Regions from separate parts of the Homo sapiens genome. Here regions 1, 2, 3, 4, 6 and 7 are each linked to region 5. Evidence: promoter capture Hi-C in 16 types of primary human blood cells and fetal thymus (Javierre and others, 2016). All regions are on one chromosome and are shown on one strand. The core of a region is centred on a gene start or on the middle of the fragment in contact, and the rest is flanking DNA. Distances in the headings are between cores, read along the strand shown. Region 1 overlaps CRTC3 (CREB regulated transcription coactivator 3). Region 2 overlaps IQGAP1 (IQ motif containing GTPase activating protein 1). Region 3 overlaps IQGAP1 (IQ motif containing GTPase activating protein 1). Region 4 overlaps IQGAP1 (IQ motif containing GTPase activating protein 1). Region 5 holds the start of MAN2A2 (mannosidase alpha class 2A member 2). Region 6 overlaps IQGAP1 (IQ motif containing GTPase activating protein 1). Region 7 holds the start of LOC124903555 (a long non-coding RNA gene).

Region 1 (2,823 bases), core at 150-2,649, 340 kb after region 5:
GAATGACAAGATGGCAGAGTAAGAGATACTGAGAGAGACAAGCACAGGCATGGCCAGTGCCCAGCAGCCACTGCAAGGGGGAGTCACAGCCTGTGTGGCCTGGTCTGCTCCTGTTGGCCCACCCCATTCTCACTGGCTTTCTGACCTTTTGGCTCCTGCTTGCGGCTGGTCTGGCTTGCCCCCTCCAGTGTCAACTGACCCCCCTCTTCCATCCAGGCTGTTGCCTCCCAACTCTGGCCTTTCTTAACCAAGTTCCAGGGTGAGACTCTCAGTTCAGGCGAGTTAAGACTCACCCAAGGAGAGACTTCCTAGGTAGTCAAGGGAAGGAAAGTTTGATTTGGACTAAAAGTAGTAAAAAGATTTCTCAGGTGGCCGGGGGAGTGAATAAGCAGAATATATTCTAAGACGAGAAACCAAACAAAAGTGGTACTAAACTGGGCATACGATGGTTCCAGGGGACTAGAAAACGGCATCTATCCAGACTGAGAAAAACAAAGCATAAAACACGTTTCCTAGGTAAAAACAAATTGGTTTTGTGTGTCTACACTTGCTTAATTTGCAAAATAAGAGCAAAGGCCCGAGAAAGATAAACCTGGGTTTGAGTCCTGACTGTCACTTGCCACTTGTGTGACCTTGGGCATGTTACTGTTTAAGCATCAGTAAAATGGGGATGATAATGCCTATCTCAGAAGGTTGATGTGGGAACTCAATGATATCAGGTACACAAAGCATAGCTCAGGTACTCAGTAACTGTTCGTGTTCTTCTCCTCACCACTCTTAAACTTCTGTCATATGTCTGTGGGGAAGTGTTTTCCCTTGCACTCAAGAAAACTAGCATAAAAGAAAGTGGTTACCCTGGTGACTTCCTCCAAAGAGGTTACAGGAGAAAATGGGGAGGGGAGAGCTTTCTCAAGTCACATCCCCAAGAGGCTGGCGGTAGAGACAGAAAAGAGCTAAGACATTAGCTATCTGTTGTCGAGGCAGCCAACTGCTTATAGCCAGGGAGTTCCTTGAGGCACTGACTATTGCCTTTGAGCAGGGAAATAATTACAATGTCTGGCATCAAGGCCTGTGTAGAATCTTCCACAGATGTTATTCTGTCTCTTGGAAAATATCCACAGTAATAATAAACAACTAAAGCTTCATTTTAAGTTTAAAGTATAAAAACTAGCTGTTTCATAACATAGGGACCAATTCTAACTCCTGACTATTGTGAAATTTTGTAGGGAATTGGAACAAAACTTTGGCTGGTTCTACAGCCAAAACATGTAGGGACTTAAAATTCTAGTTAGAGATAATCACTACTTTAAATGTAGTGCCTCTTCTCCCTCTTTTGTGAGCTGGCAGTCAGAGGCTGGATTAAGGAGATAGGTAAGAGGATTGCTTCATACTAATATGATTGAATTTAACACAGATTCAAAATGCGAGGGAATATAGAGACCTAGCTTCTTTCCTGGTCCTACACTGCCACCGCCCACATGTGCCTTCTCTGTGGGTATTCTTTCTGCCTCTCTTGAAAGCTGCACTGAGTCAAGGCACTAACATACAGCCTGGTTGACTTCAGGACAGGCCGATTAAGACTTCAGCAAAAGTATTTTTATCTAGTCTGTGAAGAATTAGTAGGATGCAACTAGCCTGTATGACATTTAAGAAGCTTCATATAATGAACAGCAAAAGCTTAGTTCTCTAGGCCTAGGTAGGATACCTGCAAAGAAAGAGGCAAATGGTACCAACAATCTATTGAAGTCAAATTAGAAGGCTGCAACAGGGAGTTTATACTAGGAACTTTGCAATATGTATTGAACAACAACTGTGCTGGGCATTATTCTAAGGATTTACATGCATTACCTAACTTAATCCTCCCAATAGCTCTATCTTAGGTACTATTAGTAGCCACATCTTGCAGATGAGTGAGCTGAGACACAGAGAGACTAACGATCTTGTCTACGATCCAGTGCTAGTTAGTGGTGGAAGTGGTCACCAGATCCCCACTCTAGGGACTGCACTTGTGACCATCAACATGAAAATTTTGTTTATTTTGACATATTGGATGGCAGGTCATAGAGACTTATGACAGAGACTTACTAAATTGCTTGATCAAGAAAAGGGCTTGTATGGTATTAAATTTTGTTGACCAATTTTGTTGAACCCCCCAAGCGGCTTACAAGACAGTTCTTATGTGAGACATCTCCACAAACTAAACCTGAACCTGCAGGGTGCAATCAGGAGCCTTGGTAATTCATTCCAGGACTTTTATTGTTCAGACTCAAACAGGACCTGCAGCTCCAGCAGGCAGCATCTGGGCGCTGCTCTCATTCCCTATTGTTCTGACAGCCAGACCTTTGAGGATCTGCAGAGCTGGTGGCCTGATAGGAAGTCACACGATTTCAGAAGAGCCTGCCAGGTTTTGACCATATGAATTATGTGTCTAGTTTCTGAGGCTGCCTCTGGAGTTAACCCCACAGGGGATATCTGAAGTATTCATCGTCTGCCCCAATCATGCTGCGTAGCTGAGGAGGGTGGAGTAAGCTAAAAGCGAATTCTGCCCACAGGGAAGACAACGGATGCCTGGTAACTTGGAGCTAAGCCCACAAATTCCAGAACTCTTTTGAAATTTCTGATTATGTGGCCAAAGTCTGGGAAATGTTTGGGTCTACTTGGCTCTGAGAAAACACATTCTCTTTCAAGAATCTGGTAGAACCAAGGATGAGAGCCATCATCAGTGACGTAAACTGGAAGTCAGGATTTAGAGGTGTCCTGACTGAATGGACATCCCACAGAGTTCCAGCCCTCAACAAATACTAGCTGAATGAATAAATCCCT
Region 2 (2,759 bases), core at 165-2,664, 460 kb after region 5:
GACTTGAATCTATCTTACCCTTAAACAGTATTACCACTGCCCTTTTTCTCCCCAACCCCTCATCTCTTCAAGCATCTGGCTATAGCAAATACACATAGAAACACCCACCCAAATAAGCTTAAATTTTAAAATTACTAAATTGGCATCTTTGTGTCATCTCACTCCCCACTCTCCCTCTTGCTTTGCCCACAACAGATGCTTGCTGGAATGGAAAGGGAAAGATAGTTATAAAGCTTTTTTCAACATACCCGAACATTTAGTGTTATGTGTTAACATTATTATGTTTTATATATGTTAATGTTATCCCCAATTTACATATAAGAAAACTGAGACTCACTAATCATGTTCACATTATTAAGTGAGAGAACAGAGCTTGAAATTTCAAGTTTAGTGTTCTTTACCCCACATTAGAGAAGCAAGTTATTCGTATTTTTTTCACCTCCACTGCCAGTGTATTTTTAAAGCCCTAGGTCTTCAAAATTGGTACTGCTGGCTCTCCAGGCTATTTCCACATAATTCAAGCATTTCCTGCCAAGTATCTAACTCCTTACCTGTGAAGTCAACCTTTCCATATAGGTCTTGAATCTGAGGGGCCAGGCCTAGCTTGAACAGGTACAAACTAGAAGATACAATATGCAAAAGGTTAGGCCTCCCAGCTGTGCCTAGCTGCCACCCTTAAAAGGCGAAAATCAGCATGAAGTATAAAATAGAAGTATTCTGAACACTGAGACTCCCAGTACCTACGACAGTCTCCTTTGTAGTTACAATACGCTATTTACCTCAGTTTTTTTTTTTTAGTTTACATGACAACATTGTCCTAAAAAGTCACATAACACAATGCAAAGAGCACTGGACTGGGAGAAATCAGTAGGCACAAATTAAAGTCCCGGTTCTGGCACAAACTCAATGCATAATTAGATGTTAATGGCCAGGCACAGTGGCTCATGCCTGTAATCCCAGCACTTTGGGAGGCTGAGGTGGGCGGATCACCTGACATCAGGAGCTTGAGACCAGCCTGGCCAACATGACAAAACCCTGTCTCTACTAAAAATACAAAAATTAGCCAGGCGTGGTGGCATGTGCCTGTAATCCCAGCTATTCAGGAGGCTGAGGCAGGAGAATTGCTTGAACCTGGGAGGCAAAGGCTGCAGTGAGCCGAGATCACACCACTGTACTCCAGCCTGGGCAACAGTGTGAGATTCCGTTTCAAAAAAAAAAAAGATGTTAACATTAATGTTAATATAATGTGAAGTGTCTCTTCATTTGTTTGCCTTCCTGTAATCAATAAGTTTTAAATAATAAGACATTTTAGAAAAGCTTCATAAAAATGATTCAGATGGCAAATCTTACTTAAACTGAATTCATATTACTGATGGAAAAGTTTAATCCAGGTAATTTAACAGTTTTAGATAAAGAATATTTCATATATTTTTACTTTTTAATTATCAGGTTGGTGAAAATTATTTTTACTTTTTAAACTTAAAAAAAAATCAACTAGACTCTAAGCTTCATGAAAGCAGGGACAATACAGGGCTCATTCACTAATGTTTACCCAGAGCCTAGCATATATTAATAAACATTAATCAATATTTGACAGATGGATGGACGGATAAATTAATGTCCATAAGCCTGTGTTATTAAGTGGATTCTAAAGCCCTAACTGATCAGAATCAATAAATTAGAAGAGATCAGAAGGGTACTTTACAGATACTGACAAAAGCAAGATATTGACAGTTTAAAGTAAGCAGGGAAATAAGAAATATATAAGAAATAAATCATAGAAACTTAAAGTGGTATACAGTTTTTGTAAATAATCTATAAACCTCAATATCATCTAAATACAAACACGCATCATGTACACTGCAATCACAGAACTGATCAAAATTTAAATTGTATATAATAAACCCAAATGTATAATAGAAAAACAAAAATCAAGTATTCTCAAAACACACTAGAATTTATACATCCACAGAAGCTAAACATTTTCTCAGAGAAGTGCAAGTATAAGTCATGTGTATATGATTAAATGCTTTTCTTTCAGGTAAAAGACTCAAGATGGATATATAAAGCGCCTGTCTCAGAAGATTTTAAATGTATTCAAAAAATTCTCCAGACTGGGTGTAGTGGCTCACACCTGTAATTCCAGTACTTTGAGAAAGAGAGGCAGGAGGATAGCTTGAGGTCAGGAATTCAAAACAGCTTGAGCAACATAGCAAGACTTGTCTCTACAAAAAAAATTTCTTAATTAGCCAGGTATGGTGGTGCATGCCTGTAGTCCTAGCCATTTGGGAGGCTAAGGCAGGAGGATAGCTTGTGCCTGGGAGGTTGTTACAATGAGTCAAGATCACACCTCTGCGTTCCAGCCTAGGCAAAAGAGTAAGACCCTGCCTCTTTAAAAAAGAAATTCCAAAGCAAAATAACTAATAACTTTCTATATATTTTTATACATTTTTATATATTTTTTATATATTTTTCTCACTAATACATCACATCTGCATTCTTAATTAAGAGAATATTTTTCTCCAAGAATTTCTTTCTCATTTATTCCTACTTGGAAATAGCGAACAAGAAATTTTAAGAAAGTTCAAGAATGTTGCTGATATGGTTTGGGTCTGTGTCCCTGTCCAAATCTCATGTCAAATTGTAATCCCCAGGTGGGGGCCTGGTGAGAGGTGATTGGATCAATGGGGGCAGGTTTCCCCCTTGGTGCTGTTCTCCTAACAGTGAGTGAGTTATCGCTAGATTTGGTTTTTTAAAAG
Region 3 (2,806 bases), core at 256-2,755, 400 kb after region 5:
CAGCAAACGATCAATTACTTCCCGTAGAACTTTTTGTTGAGAAGGAAGATCAGGAGGTTGACATTTACTTTAGCTCTATCAAATAATTTCATGACTGCAACTCCTTCATACTGTAGCTGCAGCAGGTCCTATTAACAAAACAAAACAAAACAAAACAAAACATTTTGACAGTTAATCAAGTCTGTGGAACAAGGAAAAAGGACACAATGTAGGGAGGGATCCAGATGGACTGAGGCCTGCCTTGTGTGCCAGATGTGAACTGGGGCGAAAGAAAAGTTCCACGCTAGGCAACTACCCACTGCACAACCAGCCTGAGAGCTGGAGCAATAGGGCACATTGGCCAAGGGAGGCTTCTGGTTGATTTGGAGTTAGGAAGTCATGTTGTTCATATCAAAATTCATCATACATGGAAAGAAAAAGAAACATGTTCAATTGCCACACACATCTAAGCTTTTTATTTCAGAAGTCACAATGACATTTTCCCATTTCATCCATGTTATGGGTCACTAGTTTTAATAAATCTGGAAAAGGTGAAGCATTTAAACCTATGATGAAATATACTAAGCACGGGGAAATGAGATAAGGCTAGTAATGTCACCTTAATACTATCTGATAGATTCTTAATTTCTATTCCATATGAGAACACTTTCTATCCCGAAGGCAAGGGGAAAAGAGAGAACTTGATGTTTTATTAGGTGTCTGCCATGTGCTTGGCATTGTGTAAGCACATTACATAGTATCTTTTAAAGTCCTCACAAAAATTTTTATGAGGTGCGATTATTCTAACTTTAAAGATGAGCTACTGAGACTCAGAGATGTTAAATGACTTGCACAACAGGACAGAGATGGAGGCGATAAATCCAGATCTGACTGCAATGCTCCCGCTTTTCCTGCTACTTTCACCATTGTCCTGAACAAGTTTAAGAAATCTGAGTGGTCTCACTTCTGAACTTTATAAGAGTGGTGATGAGAAAGCAAGGGTCAAAAGTCTTGAAAGGACCCCACAAGGCCGGGTGTGGTGGCTCACGCCTGTCATCCCAGCACTTTGGGAGGCCGAGGCAGGCGGATCACGAAGTCACGAGTTAGAGACCAGCCTGGCCAACATGGCGAAACCCTGTTTCTACTAAAAATACAAAAATTAGCTGGGCGTTGGGGCGTGGTGGTGCACGCCTATATTCTCAGCTACTCAGGAGGCTGAGGCAGGAGAATCACTTGAACCCAGGAGGCGGAGGTTGCAGTGAGCCGAGATTGTGCCATTGCACTGCAGCTTGGGCAATAAGAGCGAAACTGTCTCAAAAAAAAAAAAAATTAGCCGGGCGTGATGGTGTGCGCCTGTAATCCCAGCCACTCAGGAGGCTGAGGCAGGAGAATCACTTGAACCCACGAGGTGGAGGTTGCAGTGAATGGAGAACACGCCACTACACTCCAGTCTGGGAGACAGGGCGAGACTCTGCCCCCCCCTCCAAAAAAAGAAAGGACCCCACAAGTTCAATTATCTGTTGGAAAAATCCTAGCAGCTCCATGAGGGCTGCTGGGACCTGTGCCTAACAGAATACCCCACACCTGGCAGTTACCCCACATTTAATGAATTTGTACATAAATTAATAAATTACCACAGGCAGACTGGTTGGCCTAACATGATTTGGTTAAAAAATTTAAAAATAAAAATATGTTCTGATAACTCCACGTAAATAAAAAATTTTAAATTAAAAAAATAATTTGGTGAAACTGAGGGAATAAGAGGTTCCTATTCTTTTTTTTTTTTTGGTGGAAGTACTTTAGTTAGCTGTGTGCATCACAAAATCATTTCACATTTGTTTAGCTAACATGTTTTAATGGTCTACTGGTCATTGAGAAGGAAACGAAGATGACTAAGAAATGCTACCTGTCCTTAAGGAGTTTATGGCTTTAGCGGGGAGAGGGGAAGTAAGTCAACACCTACTGTAAACAGAGGATGTCTGCAAGGGCTACAGAAGCGAAGGGGAAACCACCTATTATGGCTTGGCTGGGGGAGGCACACCCATGGAAGTACTCCATGGAGGAACAAAAGGGGCGGGGTTGGGAGGCAGGGGAGGGGAGGGAGGGCAGCATGAGCAGAAGCCCAAATGTACATTGACAGGAAGGCACCTGCCCGGGCTGGCAGGGCATGGCTGTGTGAAGCAGTGCAAGAAAGGAGAGAGAAGCAGACTAACCGGTGCCACACACACAAAGCTAAAGGAGTCTGGATGTCACCTAGGAATCCTCTCGATGCCCTGTTATTTTTTAACGTGTAAAAATCAGATATTTCAAAATAAAACTTAGGGATCTTTATGCTACAAAAATGAATTACTCCCGAGTTCTTTTTGGATTTAAGATAGAATTCAGTTTACAAACATAAACTTTACACACACCTTGTCAGAATGTATCTAACTTTTAAGTACCTATATCAAATCAAAATGACAAAAAGATTTCAAGCTACTGAGTGGGCTTAGAATTCTGCAGTGTCAGCATGTGTACTTCTGCATTTTGTTCAAGTCCAAGGTGTCAGCTCGATTTAGTGGCAGCACTAAGTGGAAGCTTCAGCTAAATGTTTTCTGAAGAGTGACATCTGCAAAAGCTCTCCAGAGCGCACACACCAAACCAGACATGCTGAAACCCTCAGCTTCTTTCCCCGCAGTGTGGAGCCTAGCTCACTGCTGAATGTAGACAGCTTTCCTCAGATGAGTCTCCTCTTTATCTATTTCTCCTACTTGGACAAGAATCTCATCCAGAAAGTTTTTGGTTCCTGCTGGTGCATACCCACCTGATAATGTAACATAAAAGTCTC
Region 4 (2,700 bases), core at 110-2,609, 430 kb after region 5:
TGAGCTGAGATTATGCCACTGTACTCCAGCCTGGACGACAAGAGTGAAACTCTGTCTAAAAAAAGAAAAGAAAAGAAAAACTATTTGAACTAATATTAGTTTATAAATAAAGAGAGGGGAAAAAAGAGGGAAAGACTATAACAACATGAAAGAAAAGTGTCATTATGGTTAACATACCTTGCCTCTCCTGTCTGAGACTCCATCTGATTAACCCAAGATTTGTAAATATCCACAGGGTCAGTTTTGATGTTGAGAGATTTGTCATCCATAATTTCCTTCACGACTGGGGCCAAGATCTGTCTCAGGGCATTCTGGCCACGGGCACCACGGTTGAAACTTACAACCATTTTAATAACCGTAGGATTTCCTGTCACAATCTCTTGAATCTGATCTACCTTCGACCTATAAAACATCAGATAAAAATTTAAACTTGTCACAAAACCCATCAACTTAAAAGATCCTTCCTGCTTAAAGATCCTATCTCCCTGAAACAGTTTCTCTCGAAACATTCCCCAGCACTCACAGAATGTTCCTGCAGCTGCACGCTCAATCGTGGTCATGATTGGGTCCGCTACTAGATAAAAATGTGAATTCTTTCTGTTCAGATTACTTTTTGAAATTATACCTTAATACAGAATGTTCCTAAAGTTAATTTATCCCTTCCCTAGAAGCAGCAAGATTTTATATCAGTTATTTAAAAATTAGATGCTTCTTTAGAGTAAGTATTTTTCATAAATTAATTGAGATCAAGAAAAGATCAGGAAGGCATGAATCTCAAACTGGGAGCCCCTCTGATAGTGGGAAGGGGCCTGTGCCCTGAGGAAATCTGTTCATACTTGATTTCCTCTTGGAGTGCTGTCTTAAAGAGCCGCAGGAGCAGGTACTCCTCTCGCTGGTTGGACGCGTAGTTGTAGAGTGTGAAGATTACAGAGTCCATGAACTTGGTGGACTTGTTCTGGGGCATCTGAAAAATGAGCTTGGCCAGATAGGTGGGATTGGTCTGAAATAAAACCAAGGGATAAGTCATTTGTAGGTAATATAAAGGCTGGCAAGATATATTCAATTATTTAAAATTGAAGGACTACAATACATATGAGAAAAAAGATTAATAAATTAACATGTTACAGTGCCCCTCACTCACCCCTCAGTGGAAGTCAAAAATACTTCCAGAGAGATCGATGGTAAGGCTTTCTTGTGGAAAAATAAATTCACTAAATTTTTATAACACTGATTCCAGGAGCCACTTACTTGCAATAAATAAAACAGGTGCTGGTAAGCTTCCAACTTCTCTCTCTTCTCCTTGCTCAAAGCCTTGAGACCTCCCTTCTGTTTATTTATCATCATCATATCAGACAACTGTTCCTTATTTTTTTTGGTAAGTTTTTTACTGTGGGAAACCACATCCTATAAACAAAAACCAATAAATAGATCAGAAAGCTTTCAAAGATGAACCTCTGGGCATTGAGGAAAGGTTTTGCAGCATGTGCAAACTCACATGAAGGTGTACTGCACTGGCAGATTCCCACTGAATATTTAAAAACCACTACACTTTATCCTGTTTTCAGTACACCAGTCAAATCCATTCCTATGTTCCAACAAAGAATCTGAGCCATAAGAATGTCCACTGAATTGGCAAACCAACTTCCAGCAGTCTATTATAAAAATAAGTCTTAAATACAATAAAAGCTACATATATATTGAAACATTAATTGCAATGTTATTTATAATAAACGCTTGGAAAACAACCTAAATGTCAAATACTAGGGGAAAAAGAGGTAAATCATAGTATATCTTCTAAAAATCTAATATGCTACTGTTAAAAATAATATTTATGGCTGGGTGCAGCGGCTCACACCTGTAATCCCAGCACTTTGGGAGGCTGAGGCAGGAGGATCACCTGAGCCCAGGAGTTTTGAGACCAGCCTGGGCAATACAAAGATACCCTATCTCTTATAAAAATATAATTTGCCAGACGTGGTGGCATGCACCTGTCGTCCTAGCTACTTGAGAGGCTGAAGTGGGAGAATCACTTGAGCCTAGGAGGTCGAGGTTGCAGTGAGTCATGATCATGCCACTGCACTCCAGCCTGGGGTACAGAGGGAAACTCTGTTTCAAAAAATAAAATTAAAAAAAAATTATGACTACTTATCATAGGGAAAGAGTCTTATCCTTTAATATGAAGTAAGAATGTAAGATACAAAATGACTGGGGTAGGTGAAATTAGGGGAAGACATTTATCTTCTTTTCTCTATCAAAATTTTGTCAATTAAGTTGTTTTATGTCTTAAATAATTTTTTTTTTTTTTTTTTTTTTGGAGATAGAGTTTCACTCTGTCACCCAGTCCGGAGTGCAGTCATGCAATCTTGGCTCACTGCAACCTCTGCCTCCCAGGTTCAAGCGATTCTTCCACCTCAGCCTCCTGAGTAGCTGAAATTACAGGCATGTACTACCATGTCCAGCTAATTTTTTTTAATTTTTAGTAGAGACAGGGTTTCACCATGTTGGCCTGGCTGGTCTCAAACTCCTGGCTTCAAGTGATCCGCCCTTCTCGGCCTCCCAAAGTGCTGGGATTATAGGTGTGAGCCATCATGCCTGACCTGTCTTACATAACTTTTTTAAAAGCTTATGATGGCCGGGCATGGTGGCTCATGTTTGTAATCCCAGCACTTTGGGAAGCCAAGGTGAGTGGATCAATCACTT
Region 5 (2,844 bases), core at 261-2,760:
ACCAGCCTGGCCAACATGGCGATACCTCGTCTCGTCTCTACTAAAAATACAAAAATTAGTCGGGCATGGTGGCAGGCTCCTGTAGTCCCAGCTACTTGGGAGGCTGAGGCAGGAGAATTGCTTGAACCTGGGAGGCGGAGGTTGCAGTGAGCCAAGATCGCGCCACTGCACTCAAGGCTGGGCGACAGAGCGAGACTCTGTCTCAAAAAAAAAAAAAAGAAAGAAAAGAATTCAGGAGAACAGAGTGACAATACTCATTGCCATTGACATTTTTTCTTCCTTCCTTCTTTTCGCCATCACTGTTTTTAGCTGAGGGTTTCTACAAAACCTGACTATTGGGAAGGAAGGCTCCTGTCCTGTACTGACATTACCCTCCAGCGGGGGGTGGGAGGGGAGGCGGCGGGGTGGGAGGTGCATACCCTGAGCCCAGGTGACTTGTATACAAAGAAATTAGCAACCAGGCACGACTCACCCGGGGGAAGTTCCCACCATTCTGGTGTCGGGTGGGATCGTGTTGCACTCGGTCCAGCATGAGGTAGAGCGAGAAGACTGCCACACAGAAGATGGCAGCCCCACACACTGTCACCTGCTTTTTCAGCTTCATACTGGCCTCCACACACACCTGGCAGGAAGGACACCATCTGTAGCTCCAACATGCAAAATGCCCGTGGCAGTCTTTCCACCAAATACCCCAGTGAGTTCCTGAGGGCTGTTCCAAAGGAACACCCATTTGCCTGGCTCCAAGTAGCACAAGCAGCACATCTGAGGCTGGCCCACCTGGTCCTGGTAGCAGCTCTGCCGCTAGGGTGGAGAGGACGCTCTCCTTTGGCTGGTGCTATGAAAAACGGGCCCAGGATAAGAGTCCCAGCTCCGACTGGAGCGCACCACACAAGCTCCTGATTACACAGCTTCCCTGCCTAGATAGGAGGTGCCTGTTCAGGCTCCTCGGCCATGTGCTTCTAGTTTCAGGTGAATAAGCTAGTCTCTATTTTGTTTGATTTAAAAGTTTAGCCAGAACCCAAAGAGACTGATAGGAAAGCCTTTCTCAGTGCCCTTTCGGGTCAAACTGGCACTCACCAGAAACAGTGCCTGGCACGATCCTTTCTCAGAAACACAGAATGAGTTTCTTTCTAATAAAGAAGAAAGATGCTTGTGTTTCTAGCATAAAGCAAGCCCTGTGTGTTCTCCCTGTTTCTCTACTGTTCACTGCAGTGGGAAACTTCCAGCCGCGGTTTGCAGAGCACTTAGGGGACCCCTAGGAAGCCTGCAGTGACGCCGAAGGCCCCCTGGGAAGGGAGAGACGGGGCCCAGTGCTCAGCTGCGAGGCAACTTCAGGGGACCCGTGCCCCCCGCCGCCACCGCCCTCGGGCTCCGCTTGCCTGCTCAGGAGGAAGGAGGACGCTAACTGCGGAGCCGAGCGTGGGCGGGACCGCGCTCCGGAGTCTGCTCCGCGGGCCCTGGGGCCGAGGAGCTTTGTCGCCTCTGCGTTGTGCCCTACTTAGCGCGATCTGATTCTGCTCGGGAGCTTCCGGGCAATATTTTCAGCCCTTAGAGACTGGGTCTAGGCCAATGTGGGTGGAGCTGGGGAGAGAGTTGGATCACAGAGGGCAGGCACCTGCCGCCAGGTCTCTGGCCGCCCGCCCGGCTCCCTCCCCACCCGCTCCGACTTCGTCGGCCCCGGGGACCGCAGAGACAGGCGCCAGGTACGGGCCTCAGGCAGCCTCCTGTCCCTTCCTGGCCCCTCTGACGCCGCAGTGGCGCTCGCACTCCCGCCGCCCGAGCCCGGCCTCTGTCGGGGCAGCCGGAGCCCTCCCGCGCGCGCACCCGGCCCGTTACCGTCAGCGCCCGGCCTCCGCGCCGCTCCGGGCCCAGTCGGCCGAGCTGCCGGCTCTCACACGCCCGGGGACGGCGGCCCGCGTGCAGGCAGCGACGCAGGCGAAGGCGGGCGCCCGCCCACCCGTAGCCCCCTGCTCCGCGCGCCGCTGCCGCGCTCCCGCTGGGCCCCGGGCCGCCGGCGCGCTCCGCTGCGCCGGCCCCGCGCGGGTCCGCCAGCCTCTGAAGCTGCCGGGCCCAGCAGCGTGCGGGGCGGGGACAGCCGCGCCGCCCGCCCCGGCCTGCGTGTGCCCGGCGGAGCTGACAGGAGCTCTGGCCGCCGCGGTCCCCGCCCGGCTCCTCCCGGGCCCGCTCCGCTGGGCTGCAGTGCGCAGCCGCACCAGCCCGGGCCGGGCCTGGCCAGCTGCGGAACCTCAGGAGGGACGCGCGACTGAATTTTTTCGGAATCCTACTTGAGTAAGCGCATGATCGGGCAGTGGTCGAAACGCCCGCCTCCGTCTCGGCAGACGCGTAGCGGGGTGCGTTCTCCGCGGCCTCACCCGGCTCCGGCCCAGGTAGCCTTAGGTCTCTGTCGTTGCGCCCCTCGGGCAAAGGGGTGCTGCCTCCTGTCGGTACAGCGCATTCCTCGAGTCCCTTTCCTTTCCGTGCCTGCTCTATGTTTCCTGCCAGCGAGTGAACAAGACACAGACTTTTCTTGGCTGTTTCCCTTTTACTGGGCATCTAGGTTGTTTACAGTTTTTCAGTGTAATCCATACTGCAATGAACATCTCCATGAATTCCACATTTTTGTTCTTTTTAAGTTATATATAACATTATCTGAATGTGACCCCCCAAATTCATGTTCAAATCCTAATCCCTCAAGGTGATGATGGTATTAGGAGATGGGCCTTTGGGGGTGAACAGAGTTTGAAGGGAGAGCTCTCATGAATGGGATTAGTGCCGGTATCAAATGACCCCGAGAGTCGGCCCCTTCAACCACGTGAGAACACAGCTAGAAGGCACTATCTGTGC
Region 6 (2,700 bases), core at 157-2,656, 450 kb after region 5:
CCTGCAGAGTCTTTTGGGCATCACCTTCATCCAGGGCTTCATTAATTAAACCAATGGCTAAAATCCCTAAATATAAAGAGACAGAAAGTTTTTTTTTTCTAATTAAGGAAGTACATAAACAAATCAATCATGGAACATGCTAACTAATCATAAATCCACCTAAGAGTAACCATGATTCAAACTGCAACTTACCATCCGTTAAGCAGCACTGTTTTCATTTTTTAATTAGTATTTATTTCAACTAAACTCACTTGTATTCATATTCCTATTGAATGCTCAAGTCCTTTTGTTTCATTTTTAATTGCTCTAACTTAAAAGCGATGAGGATTTTTATGAAACTGGCCTTACTGTATAGCTTTCAGGTACACTGGAATGTGTAATCAAAAACATTCTTGAGTCACAAAGGATTCACGAAGAGTCTTAAAAAGGTTCAAGGGTTCTTAAAAAGTCATCTAATTCAACACTTTTATAGAAGAAATAACAAGGCTTAGCAATCTCTTCTCCAAGATTACACAGCAAACAAATGGCAGAAGAAAGATCCAAGCGCAGGGCTCCCTAATGCGAAGCAAGGCTCTTCCCACCAAGTCAGTTGAATATTTCTCCCAGGAAATACAAATTAAAATTAGGAACGTTCACTCCCCAGGTATCTTAGGCAGCCGTACTGCTTTTGTAAGGACTCTGCTGTATAATAAAAAGTCTGGCTGGTCTTTGTCTCTGGGGGAGCGTCTAAGACCCTTGGGATATCCTGAGTGATAGGTATGTTTCTGTGATTCATGGTGGGCCCCTCCGCCCACACCTGAATTTATGCCAACCAATGACTCCTGGTTGGCCTCATGAGAGTTTAAGGATGGAGGCTGGCCATGCTGGAAAGATCAACCACTGAGGTATAGAGTCACGTGATACCAGCCTGGCCTCCCATTCTCCAGGGAGCAGAGGCCAAATGAAAATTGAGTTTAATCGCAAAGCCAATACTATCAATCACGCATATGTAACGAACCCAAATAAAAACTCTGGACACCCAAAACTCAGGTGTGTTTCCCTGGTTGGTGATACACGTCAATGTGCCAGGAGAGTGACACATCCTGAGAACACAGAAGCTTCATATTGGGGACTCTCACAGATATTGCCTGATGATTCTCTTCTTTCAGCTGATCCTGATTTACATATTTTGTAATAAAATTTTAATCGTAAGTCTAGCATTTTCTTGAGTTCTGTGAGTCATTCTAGCAAATTATTAAACCTGAGCGGGTAGAAGGGATCCTCCAAATTTGCAGCCAGTTGTTCAGAAGTACAGTGGCCTGGGAACCCTGCAGCTTTCAGCTTGTGTCTGAAGTGAGAGGAGTCTTGTGGAGGACCATGCCTACAACCTGTGCAATTCAACCTAATTCCATGTAGTGTCAGGACTACTTGTTATAACAGCATTTAAAAATAACAGATCATGTTCAATTCACCTCCCCCAAAATTTAGTTCTTACTGGACATATACCTAATTATAGCAATTGCCTGGTGTTCTCAAAACAATATCCAACTTTAGCCTTTTGTGTTATATAGATATTTTCAATCTCTCACCCAAAAATCCTTCTAGGAGTAGTATTTTGAACCACTTCATGGAATCACATCATCATTAATGGTGACATTATTTGGGGAGGACAGGAAGATAACTCACTCTCATGTTCCTCTTGCACCACCAGGTTCACATGGTCCACGCAAGCTTGGATATCATTCCATGTAATGAATTCATTATTCTCTGCATGTGCCTGAGCCTTCAGTTTCATCAACTCATCGAGATACCTGCCCCAGACCCCCAAGTAAAAAGAGCATTAAGCACAGCATGTTTAAATATTCAAGGAACAAAGATTGCTAGGGTATCCCAACCATTTGATATATTCTCAAGACCAGTTTTGGAACTGCACAGTTACTTTAAACAAAGTGCAAAAATGCAACAGAAATCACTTATTCTCAATATCCTGTTACATATTCTAAATTCCATGTTAAGACTAACTCTAGAATTAAAGGCAGCAGTTCAAGCAATTCCTCCATAGACAAGAAAAAAAGGCTACACATGAGCTAATAAATGCAGGAGGAATGACAGAGCAACAAATCATCATTCAGCAACTTTTACTGAAGGTACTGATTTAGGAAAGATTATCAATTGGGTTAAAAATATCACGTGAATGCTTAATGGAAAACTAGATATTTTGACGGTGCAAAAGAGATGATGTTCTAGTGATGAGGGAAAAGCGTAAATACGCAATGGAAGTATAAGTGGTCTCCCTAATCCAGGGATCAATCTTAGTATCTCTAATGGTGGGATGGTGGGAAAAGTGGGTTTTATATGCCTATTGATATGAGGCAATATGAAATACACATCATCAAAAATGTTGAACTGAATCGTGACAAGCCTAGAAATTTAATTTCCAATTTACAGGAATAAGGCAAATATGAGAAAGCAACTAGAACTATCCATAAAATAGGCAATTGGTCCCATCCCTTTAACAAGTCAGTCTCATGAAGAAAGGGACAATTCTAGATTAAAAGATACTCAAGGGACACAACAGCCAGATATAATACATGTTCCTAGGCTAGATCTTGTTTTCAACAAAACAGCTATAAAGGACAGTTTGGGAACAAATGAAGAATGAAAATGAACTAGCTAGGGTTAGATGATATTTAAAAAGTATTATTTAACTTTGTCAGAGAT
Region 7 (2,700 bases), core at 116-2,615, 310 kb after region 5:
CTCAACCTGTGGAGTGTTAGAGGGAACAGTTCTTACTCTTCACCAAAGGAAGGGGAGCAGCTCTTCTTCTTCTGATAAGAGAGGACATCAGTTGGCCAGTTTACCAGTGGGTGGGGTTACTGAGCCACAGAAGCTGAAAACAAGACCCGCCCTGGCCCTTTCTTTGTGCTGCTTGACCTGCGGCTGGGTGAGCAGGCCCAGGGTTCCCTTCTCTTGGCTTCCCGTCCCTGTGCGGTCAGTGTACCTGGGCAGGGCTCAGGAACTGCCTTGTCGGGGCAGCCTGGAAGCCAGTCATTTCTCTCCTGCTCTGGAACTCTGTGTTCTGCCAGGGACACAGTTTGTGGGGCAGGCCTGAGACCTTCCATGTAGCTGGTGGGGTAAGTGGGCTCGGAGTCTGGTTAACAGAACCCACCTACCAAGACAAGTTTCAGGGTCAGATTTAATATATAAAACTGGCCACAATTTGGCTCCTTCCTGATTGCTCAGCCATGTGTTTATTGTCATTCTACTTCTTTTTGTCCCTTTACCTCTAACTATGTCCCACTAGAAGACATCTTAAAGTGAAACTGTAAGGGAGGATATGAGTGGCATCTTTTTGAGTCCTTGCATTTATAAGAACATCCTGTTTCCCTCAGCAAATGAGAGGCAAACAGGTTGCATGTGGTATTGTGAAGTCAGAATATTTCCCCCTTAAAATTCTAAAGACCAATGTTTCCTTGTCCTTCAAGATAAGACGGGTGTTAGGTAACAGTTGGATTTTGTGATCACTTAAGTTTTGAAATTCTGGGTTAAAGATAAGAAGTTTATTAACTGCAGGACTTTTCAGAGCCCTGATATATACGGTCAGGCTCCAAGAGGTGATACAGAGTATGGTGTTTCTCAAATGTAATAGGCCATGCATCTCAAAGAAACAGTGTCCTATAAACCAATGTCCTAACATTTTCATCTCATTATGATGAAAAGAATCAAAGCAAGGCCCAGCCCAGAGAGGAGAATCATTCCTAACTCTAGTAGGTCTTAGGCATCTCTTCACGACCCTTCACGCTGGTGAACTCTTGACTTCCTTTCAAGGAAGGCATTTCGTGTTTCCTTCTGAGCGTGTCATCCACAAGGCTGAGAAAATATTTTATTTGCTATAAATTTATGTTAATAGTTCAGAAGTTTAGCAATGGTGTTTGGGACACGGCACGTCTGCCAACCTTGATGAGTGAGAGTAAGAAGGGCTGCTACAGACTGCACATCTGCAGAAGGGCAGAAGAGCTTCTCTTCCAAGTGCCCGAGCCCAGGCCCCCAGCCAGGAGCAAGCCCTGGCAGTGCCTCTCCTCCGCCTGTGTGGGGCTAGGCCAGGGCCCAGCTGCAGCTGTGCCTTGGTCTTGTGTGGCCACCCATGCCAAGGGCAAAGCCCACTCCAGAAGGAATCTCCTGTGGCAGAGCTCTGCGTGCTGTGGCTGCCCACTCTGAGAGGAGGCCAGAGTATTTGTTAAACAATGTTCGTTTTATTTGAGATCACCCTATCATAGGAGTGAACCCTTAAAACCCTTGTCTAAGCCAGTGTGTCTTAAATAACACCCAAGCCAAGAAACAGCTATAATAATTCTGATTTTTTCCTTTTGTTCTAACAAAGATTCAAACTAGTGTTTTATACTTTCAAATGAAGAAACTTCATTTAAAAAGTCATAGACAAATGTTCAAGGCCACAATTTTAAGCAGATTATTTCACAACCAACAGAATGCAGGTCGTGAAAGCAAAGACGGAATCACAGCCCTCCTCCTCCAAGTGGAATAGATTAACACCAAAATAAAATCATCCCATTTCACGGACCCTTGATTCCTCAAAAGAGACTGGGCTAAAGAACTTTCTTTGCATCAACCGATGTCCAGTCCCAGGAACCCAATTTAGGAGCTTAGGAGACCACAGAGACATGGCTCATGATCAGTGAATCTGACTCATACTGTCTAATAACTTTAATTTCTCTGCATATTAACTTGGTTTTTGTTTCTCCTTCCTTTAGGAGTTGACTAGCTTTGCTTATGCTCTCAAGTTGATCCATACAGTGCCAGATTATACCCTATCATAAGAGATAGGGTCCCCTGAACACAAGAAGTCATCTCCCCTTCTGGGTAGGACTTTGCACCACATTCTCTTCCCTCTGCCTGGAACATACCTCCCAACTGCTTTACTCTCTTAAATCTCACTCATTACCATCTAAAACCATTTTCCTTTCTTATTGCCTGTTTGCTGTCATCTCCCACAGGACTGTGAACTCAAGAAAGCAGGAAGTATGCCTCCCTTATTCATCACTGGGTCCCCAGTGCTTAGAACAGTGCCTGGCACAGAGACGGGGCTCTGTAAAGATCTGCTGAATGAACACTTTATCCTCTTACTTCTTATCCTTCAAGCCTCAGATGTTCCCCCAGGATGCCTTCTTCGTTTCCCCAGACTAGTTCAAGCTGCACCTCCGACGTGCTCCCACAGCCCCTGAGCTGCCTCCCTGCAGACGCCATACCTGCCGTGGCTGCTTGTTTGCTGAGTAGCCTCTCCCACTGAACCCTGGGCAACTTGAGGTCAGGGACCATGCTGTTTACTGTTACAGTGAATTAAAATGTCTAAAACGGTGTCTGACCACTAGCACATACTTAACAAATAATTTTTATAAGTGAATAAACATTCTCCTCTTTTTTCTTCAATTCCCTTCTCTA

Evidence for each region. Contacts are between HindIII fragments. The CHiCAGO score rates a contact against its expected background, and 5 or more counts as called.
Region 1: a contact is called between a fragment that was not itself captured here and the fragment with the promoter of MAN2A2 in region 5, in 6 of 17 cell types (monocytes, M0 macrophages, naive B cells and 3 more). The highest score is 6.7, in monocytes.
Region 2: a contact is called between a fragment that was not itself captured here and the fragment with the promoter of MAN2A2 in region 5, in 3 of 17 cell types (total B cells, naive B cells and activated CD4 T cells). The highest score is 6.1, in total B cells.
Region 3: a fragment that was not itself captured here is called in contact with the fragment with the promoter of MAN2A2 in region 5 in 3 of 17 cell types (M1 macrophages, activated CD4 T cells and erythroblasts); the score reaches 6.1 in M1 macrophages.
Region 4: a fragment that was not itself captured here is called in contact with the fragment with the promoter of MAN2A2 in region 5 in 1 of 17 cell types (naive B cells); the score reaches 7.6 in naive B cells.
Region 6: a fragment that was not itself captured here is called in contact with the fragment with the promoter of MAN2A2 in region 5 in 1 of 17 cell types (activated CD4 T cells); the score reaches 5.5 in activated CD4 T cells.
Region 7: a fragment that was not itself captured here is called in contact with the fragment with the promoter of MAN2A2 in region 5 in 1 of 17 cell types (erythroblasts); the score reaches 5.3 in erythroblasts.

Annotation. Positions count from the first base shown.
Region 1 is chr15:90,560,188-90,563,010 of GRCh38, reverse strand. All of the region lies in intron 2 of CRTC3 (CREB regulated transcription coactivator 3), which reads right to left. Among named protein-coding and RNA genes, the nearest start is that of CRTC3, 32 kb to the right of the region's middle. RefSeq lists an enhancer at 1-130. The HindIII fragment of the contact is 514 bases long and covers 1,143-1,656 here.
Region 2 is chr15:90,437,192-90,439,950 of GRCh38, reverse strand. IQGAP1 (IQ motif containing GTPase activating protein 1) reads right to left here. Exons shown (of 38, transcript NM_003870.4): 6 at 552-619. Among named protein-coding and RNA genes, the nearest start is that of IQGAP1, 50 kb to the right of the region's middle. RefSeq lists a silencer at 2,687-2,759. The HindIII fragment of the contact is 189 bases long and covers 1,320-1,508 here.
Region 3 is chr15:90,497,317-90,500,122 of GRCh38, reverse strand. IQGAP1 (IQ motif containing GTPase activating protein 1) reads right to left here. Exons shown (of 38, transcript NM_003870.4): 37 at 2,783-2,806; 38 at 1-128. The coding sequence ends at 15. Among named protein-coding and RNA genes, the nearest start is that of CRTC3, 31 kb to the left of the region's middle. The HindIII fragment of the contact is 2,106 bases long and covers 453-2,558 here.
Region 4 is chr15:90,475,367-90,478,066 of GRCh38, reverse strand. IQGAP1 (IQ motif containing GTPase activating protein 1) reads right to left here. Exons shown (of 38, transcript NM_003870.4): 24 at 1,249-1,404; 25 at 837-1,000; 26 at 178-402. Among named protein-coding and RNA genes, the nearest start is that of CRTC3, 53 kb to the left of the region's middle. The HindIII fragment of the contact is 160 bases long and covers 1,280-1,439 here.
Region 5 is chr15:90,901,968-90,904,811 of GRCh38, reverse strand. MAN2A2 (mannosidase alpha class 2A member 2) reads right to left here and starts at 1,510. Exons shown (of 23, transcript NM_006122.4): 1 at 1,380-1,510; 2 at 473-622. The coding sequence starts at 604. RefSeq lists enhancers at 520-579, 2,420-2,469 and silencers at 1,530-1,959, 1,980-2,249. The HindIII fragment of the contact is 23,300 bases long and covers 1-2,844 here.
Region 6 is chr15:90,453,518-90,456,217 of GRCh38, reverse strand. IQGAP1 (IQ motif containing GTPase activating protein 1) reads right to left here. Exons shown (of 38, transcript NM_003870.4): 14 at 1,666-1,790; 15 at 1-66. Among named protein-coding and RNA genes, the nearest start is that of IQGAP1, 67 kb to the right of the region's middle. RefSeq lists an enhancer at 1-67. The HindIII fragment of the contact is 613 bases long and covers 1,100-1,712 here.
Region 7 is chr15:90,595,756-90,598,455 of GRCh38, reverse strand. The region is part of intron 3 of CRTC3 (CREB regulated transcription coactivator 3); the gene reads right to left. It overlaps LOC124903555 (a long non-coding RNA gene), which reads left to right and starts at 2,478. Exons shown (of 2, transcript XR_007064758.1): 1 at 2,478-2,565. RefSeq lists enhancers at 1-259, 2,427-2,496. The HindIII fragment of the contact is 4,338 bases long and covers 1-2,700 here.